2 separate regions of the Homo sapiens genome follow, and region 2 is linked to region 1. Evidence: promoter capture Hi-C in human tissues and cell types (Jung and others, 2019). All regions are on one chromosome and are shown on one strand. The core of a region is centred on a gene start or on the middle of the fragment in contact, and the rest is flanking DNA. Distances in the headings are between cores, read along the strand shown.

Region 1 (2,904 bases), core at 119-2,618:
AGAACAGAAATGAATAAGCCACTCTCTGCCTCCAAGAAGATCTCTTCAAGTGGAGGTGACAGACATGCCCAAAGCAAATAGATTGCAATAAGACTTGATGGGAGAGAATGTGAGTCTTCACATCCTAGCATCTTTCCAGATAGAGACAGGGCCTACCCAAAAGTCTAATCTGAAACTGAACTGAAATAGAACAGAAATAGATCCCAAGTGATGGAACCTGTGCCTTTCCCAAAGCTTGGCTTCTAAAAGGTAGCAAACATTTTCTACTGGAGAGGGGAAAGACAGGAAGAAGAAAAAGGGAGTTTCCTCCTTTTCTCTTGGGCTCTCAGCCAGACAGCCACTGGCAAAACGTTGGAAAGGCCTAAATTTGTCCTGGATGCACTTCCCTGATCCTAGTCCCACCAATCCCAGCCCCCACGGCCTTAAGCCCCTATGGCTCCCTCCCAAGATTCCAAACGTAAGAAAAGAACACACACCACAGTCCAAAGGCTTCTTGTCTGGAATAGCCAACCCTGGGGTAATTGTTAGGTGGAATGCAATCTGGTTGAATTCATTCAAACACTGTAGGAATTGCCTCTTTCGAACCCTGTAGGATTTTACTTCTTGACGCATCTGTTTATTTAAAACCAAAGGGGTATGTTGAGGCATGGGCACCCTGGCAGCAGACCCCAAACCAACCCTCTTGACTTGTGCCTGCCTTTCAGGATATGTTCCCTTCCTGAATTTGTCTAAGAAGGCTGAGTTGGGGGGTGGTTGCTGATTTTTATAACATATAGCCAGTTGTTCATAGGCCTGTGTTTTAAAGAAGGGCAAGCCTGAACTCACCGTCCTGCCTCAGGGCCTGGGCTCCATACCTGGGGAGTAGACAGTCTTCTACTTTCTAAAAAGCTGGACTTGAAATTTGGAGTAAATCTCCTGGTTGAGTGACAGGTGTTTCGCAGCTGAGCCCTTGAGGAGATTCTCCAGTTGGGCAGAGACATCCCTTCCTCAGACGCCTTGTGGGCTGGACTCCTTTGGCCCAGTTCAAAGTGAGGGGAGGGCTCCCAACAGGCCGGGAAGACAGTTGACTTCACCCTCCTTGGGTTTGTCTGTCTGTCCGTCTCTGGGAATGGTCGCTTCCTGTTTTCCCTTTTCCTTTTAAGCCTCGCCTTGTTCCCCTCTTCTCTCTCTTCATGAACTACTCCGAGTCTTGGTCTCCGTCCCTCTATCTCTGGCTCCTGCATCTGTCTCGGCTTCTGGCCTTCCTCTCCCCCTCCCCTCCCCTCCCTCGCGCTGTCATTCACCCCGCTCCTCTCCGCGCACAGCCAATGGAGAGACCCAGTCGAAACCGCGAAGCTCTCTTGCACCGGGCTTTTTCGCCTGGTGATTGATGTCCCAGAGTCAACAGCGAGCGAGCAGCCGGAGCGGGGAAGCAGAAGCCAGAGAGGGGAAGAATACGGCGCCCCCTCTCTCCCTCCCCTCCCCCTTCTACTTTAGCCTTTCTGCGCACTTCGCTTCCAAGTCTCCGCGCAGCCAGGAGCCGCTGTTGCCTCCCAGCCCCTGCTAGCTGCCCCCCGAGCCGAGCGCAGCGAGCGCCGCCGCCCGGGCCCCCCGGTGGGGCCAGGGCCAGCATGGAGCACCTGGGTCCGCACCACCTCCACCCGGGTCACGCAGAGCCCATTAGCTTCGGCATCGACCAGATCCTCAACAGCCCGGACCAGGGTGGCTGCATGGGACCCGCCTCGCGCCTCCAGGACGGAGAATACGGCCTTGGCTGCTTGGTCGGAGGCGCCTACACTTACGGCGGCGGGGGCTCCGCGGCCGCGACGGGGGCTGGAGGAGCGGGGGCCTATGGTACTGGAGGTCCCGGCGGCCCCGGAGGCCCGGCAGGCGGCGGCGGCGCCTGCAGCATGGGTCCTCTGACCGGCTCCTACAACGTGAACATGGCCTTGGCAGGCGGCCCCGGTCCTGGCGGCGGCGGCGGCAGCAGCGGCGGTGCCGGGGCACTCAGCGCTGCGGGGGTAATCCGGGTGCCGGCACACAGGCCGCTCGCCGGAGCCGTGGCCCACCCCCAGCCCCTGGCCACCGGCTTGCCCACCGTGCCCTCTGTGCCTGCCATGCCGGGCGTCAACAACCTCACTGGCCTCACCTTCCCCTGGATGGAGAGTAACCGCAGATACACAAAGGACAGGTTCACAGGTGAGTCCGGCCCGCGCGCTCCCCGCCTGGCCGCGGCCCGGGCTCCGTGCTACCCCTGCCCCGCCGGGTGGCTCCCCAAAGCCGGTTCTGCGCTCCAGGTCGCCCAGCTCTTCTTGGTGCTTCCCCCAAGTTGAGCCGCCCGCCCGATTCTATAACGCAGACTCGCCATGCTTGAAGAGTTCTCTCAGCCTGGACCCCTCTCTGTCTCCCGAAGGACCCCTGCTCGGAGGAGCTCTCCCTGGTCCCCTCTCCGGATCCACTAGCCGGGTCAGGCAGAGAGAAGGAGGCCATAGATTCAGGACCACCTTCTGCAGCTACTCTTGGCCTGGGAATCTTAGAGAAAGGGGTGCAACGTGAACAGTTTCTTCCGTCCTGGCTGCTGTTCTAGGACCCAGGAAGCGAGCCCCAGGATCAGACACAAGAAAAGAACAGGTTCCCCCACCTCCAGTCCCCTACACACATGCACTTCGCGCCCCTAGCTCCGGTGCCCGTGGTGCTGCGGGGCCAGTGGGGGCTCTGAGCCCCGGTAAATCAGCAGAACCAGTGGCCTTTTTTTTTTTTTCCGGAGAGCAGGCTTCATCTGGGAGGATGGCAGCGGGGCTTAGCCGCCCAGGACAGCTAGCTTTTCATTTTCGTTCTCTCCCGGCTGGGTGTCCTACCCCGGGCCCAGCCCTGTTATCTTGGGCACGAACAATGCACCGGTAGGCTGGTGATCGGTGGCGGGAA
Region 2 (2,845 bases), core at 115-2,614, 160 kb after region 1:
TTTGTGGTTAGGGCTGGCCCTGCCTTTCAGAAGCTCAGCCCTCTCACCCCACAGCCTGGTTTCAAGTTGTCCTAAGGACATGTGCCCTGGCCCCAGGAGCCACTCTGCTTCACACCTGCCCCCTGCCCACAGCTGACCAAAGACTTTCCTTTGCCACTCTCTCAATACAAGCCCTCTATTGCTCCCGTTCCTGATATAAGTTTCCTCCAAATCCCCACACTGTCTCCTGTGACCCACTTAAGAGACCTAACTCTCTGGACTTAAAATAGAAAACACCAAACACAAGCTTTTACACTTCCCGCTACCAGCGGAATAAAGGTTGCATCTTTAACAAAAACAACATAACCACCTACTAATAATAATAGTTGCCGACCACTTCAAAGTGGGTGGCCATTCACTTGCCCAGCTCTCCCCAACCCACTTCCTACCTGTCCCCAGGCTGTGGGTCTCTCGGGACGTGTGACGTGTATGGCTGTGTGCTGTGTATTTTTGCCTCCTCAGGAAAAACTCCAAAGTGACTGCTTGCCCTGGGCTCATCTATAATCTGGGGCATTGATCGGGGCCCATTGATAGCTGATTGTTTTCACACGTGACTCGGTCACATTCCTCTAATCTCCATCCTTCTGCTCAGTTTGCATGACAAGAAGTGGCCTCGGTGGAGAGAGGTCGCTCACCTCTGACCAGGATATAATTGGAAAAAGAAGGTCATTGCCTCCTTTGCTTCTAGGGCAGATCAGCTTCGTTCCATTTGTGTCACGAGCTCTTGCCAGCACACACTCTCAATGACATGGAGACAATGGCTGTGCCCCACAATGGAGCCCACAGAGATGTGCTCGATACAACACAAACACACCCCAGGATCCGCACTCACTCTCATCAGGACAGGCATGTACGACAACACACACACAATAGGTGCTCTCAGTAAACGCTGATGATAACACCAGTGATACACGGGATGATGCATACCCAGTGACATCCGCACACAGAGGATACATAAAAAGATGCATAAAGCAATGCTTACCCAGTGGTGCAGGTACCCAGCAACATACACATGCAGCGACACACAGACACATCCATGAGGGCAAATAGCCCAGGCCGAGCTACCACATCCAACATGAAAAAATATGTGACATTTTTCAGTGTACCCACTTGGCAGGTAGCCCATTATATCTTGTACTATTATTGATCTGCTTGGAGCCAAAGCTGACAGTGCCCCACTCCTGGTCTCCCCATGTTCCCATTCCCAGTGCCGCACCTCCAGGCAGTTTCTTCAGGTAATGCTCATGTGGGACTCTGTATCAGCGTTATCTGGGGGAGCTCTGACACCGGGCATGCTTCCAGGAAGCCCTGCCTCTACATACAAGCTTCTTACAATGCATGCGTGCGGGTAAACACGCTTATGTTAAAAATCTCCCTCAAGTAATTCTGCTATCCTGCCAGGTCGAGAACACTGAGCCGTCACCACCAGGCTCCCCTCTCCAGGGTGGCTAAACTTGCCATTGAGGGTGTTGGGCTGTATTTTATTTTCTCAGTTTGGGAAGGGATGAGGCCCCAGAACTGAAAAAAGGACAGTCAATGGCCAGGAACCGAATGAGTTAAAACCGGGCCCTATAGCCTTCATCCCTGGTGACTCTGGCTGGCCTCGTTAGCGCCCGCGCAGCACGCACAGAAGGACCCTTCGCGCAGGATGTCCCGGAGACTCGTCCACGCTCCCTAGCCGGGCTGCGAAGGCCCAGATCTCCCAGCGCCTCCATGCCGCGTCGGCCGCGGCCTTGGGGGTCTTCCGGGGACAGTGGCCAGCCCTGGGCCGGTGACCTAGCCTTTGGGCGCTTCCCCGGGGCTCTAGGGTCCCAGGGCGCCAGGGCCAACACCAGGAAAGCCAGAAGGTTCCTTCCTTTGGGGCAGGAGTTGGGGGGAGTCGCCGTACGCCCACCCTGCCACGCGGGAGGCCTCCGGGAGAGGGCAGAGGGCGCCGGGCAGGGACCAATCATCGGCGGCGACCGGTCACTCGCGCCCCAGCGAGGAGACCCTGAGATCCGCGGGGAGAGCACAGGGTCGCGCCGCCCCCTGGCGGCTCAATGACAGAGTTGAGGCCCGGCGGCTGGCGACTGCGGCGTCTGGCAGCTCCAGGAAAGGATCCCCCTTGTGAAGAAACGCCCCTACGAAGACTGTCCTGTCCTGTCCCTGCCCTCCCGCTCCCGCTCGCCTTCTCTCCCCTTCTTTATTTTCTCTCTTCCTCCTCCCCCCACCTCTTCCACTCTTCCTGCCCTTCCCCCCTCCCCGTCCTCACTCCCTCTCCCACCCCCATTCCTTTCTCTCGTCCTTCGCCCACCGCCTCCCGCCCCCGCGGGGCAGCGCCTCGGTGCACCCGCTTGGCAGTTAGCCCATTAGATCTCGTACTATTGATCCGCTTCTGAGCAAAAGCTGACAGCACCCCCTCCCGGGCTCCCCACGTTCCCATTCCCCGCGCCCCCCTCCAGGCAGTCCTGGCCTGCGCCTCCTCCCGCCCCCCACGCGGGCCGCGCCGAAGTCTCGCCCTCACGAAGGACGAGAACAAATGTAATTAAAGCGACCGGCGAGGGGGGTGTGCCCCCACCAACGCAGGCACGAGCGAGGGTCCCAGCGGCCGGCGCCCGGCCTGCCACCTCCCTCCCCCTCGTCCCCGCCCCCTGGAGCGGGAGCATTTGGGTTGAGCTGCGCCTGTCCTATAAATCCACATATAATTCTCCTCTTTCCTGTTCAGCTAAGGAAAATAAACGTGTAAGGCTGTTTCTGGGAGCCCAGCTCAGGGACCGCTCTAAATTCTCCTCTTATTGAGTAGGGGCTGGAAATCATTCAGCTCGGC

The links. The method cuts DNA at HindIII sites, captures the fragments that hold promoters and counts their contacts. A contact is called where the count stands out against the background at its distance.
Region 2: a contact is called between a fragment that was not itself captured here and the fragment with the promoter of TLX1 in region 1, in 3 of the 25 tissues and cell types used here (lymphoblastoid cells, mesendoderm cells and neural progenitor cells).

The regions. Positions count from the first base shown.
Region 1 is chr10:101,129,932-101,132,835 of GRCh38, forward strand. It overlaps TLX1 (T cell leukemia homeobox 1), which reads left to right and starts at 1,369. Exons shown (of 3, transcript NM_005521.4): 1 at 1,369-2,178. The coding sequence starts at 1,611. It overlaps TLX1NB (TLX1 neighbor), which reads right to left and starts at 1,215. Exons shown (of 3, transcript NR_130723.1): 1 at 855-1,215. The HindIII fragment of the contact is 11,337 bases long and covers 1-2,904 here.
Region 2 is chr10:101,289,729-101,292,573 of GRCh38, forward strand. No RefSeq gene overlaps it. Among named protein-coding and RNA genes, the nearest start is that of LINC02681, 28 kb to the left of the region's middle. RefSeq lists enhancers at 1,192-1,731, 1,732-2,271. The HindIII fragment of the contact is 6,298 bases long and covers 1-2,845 here.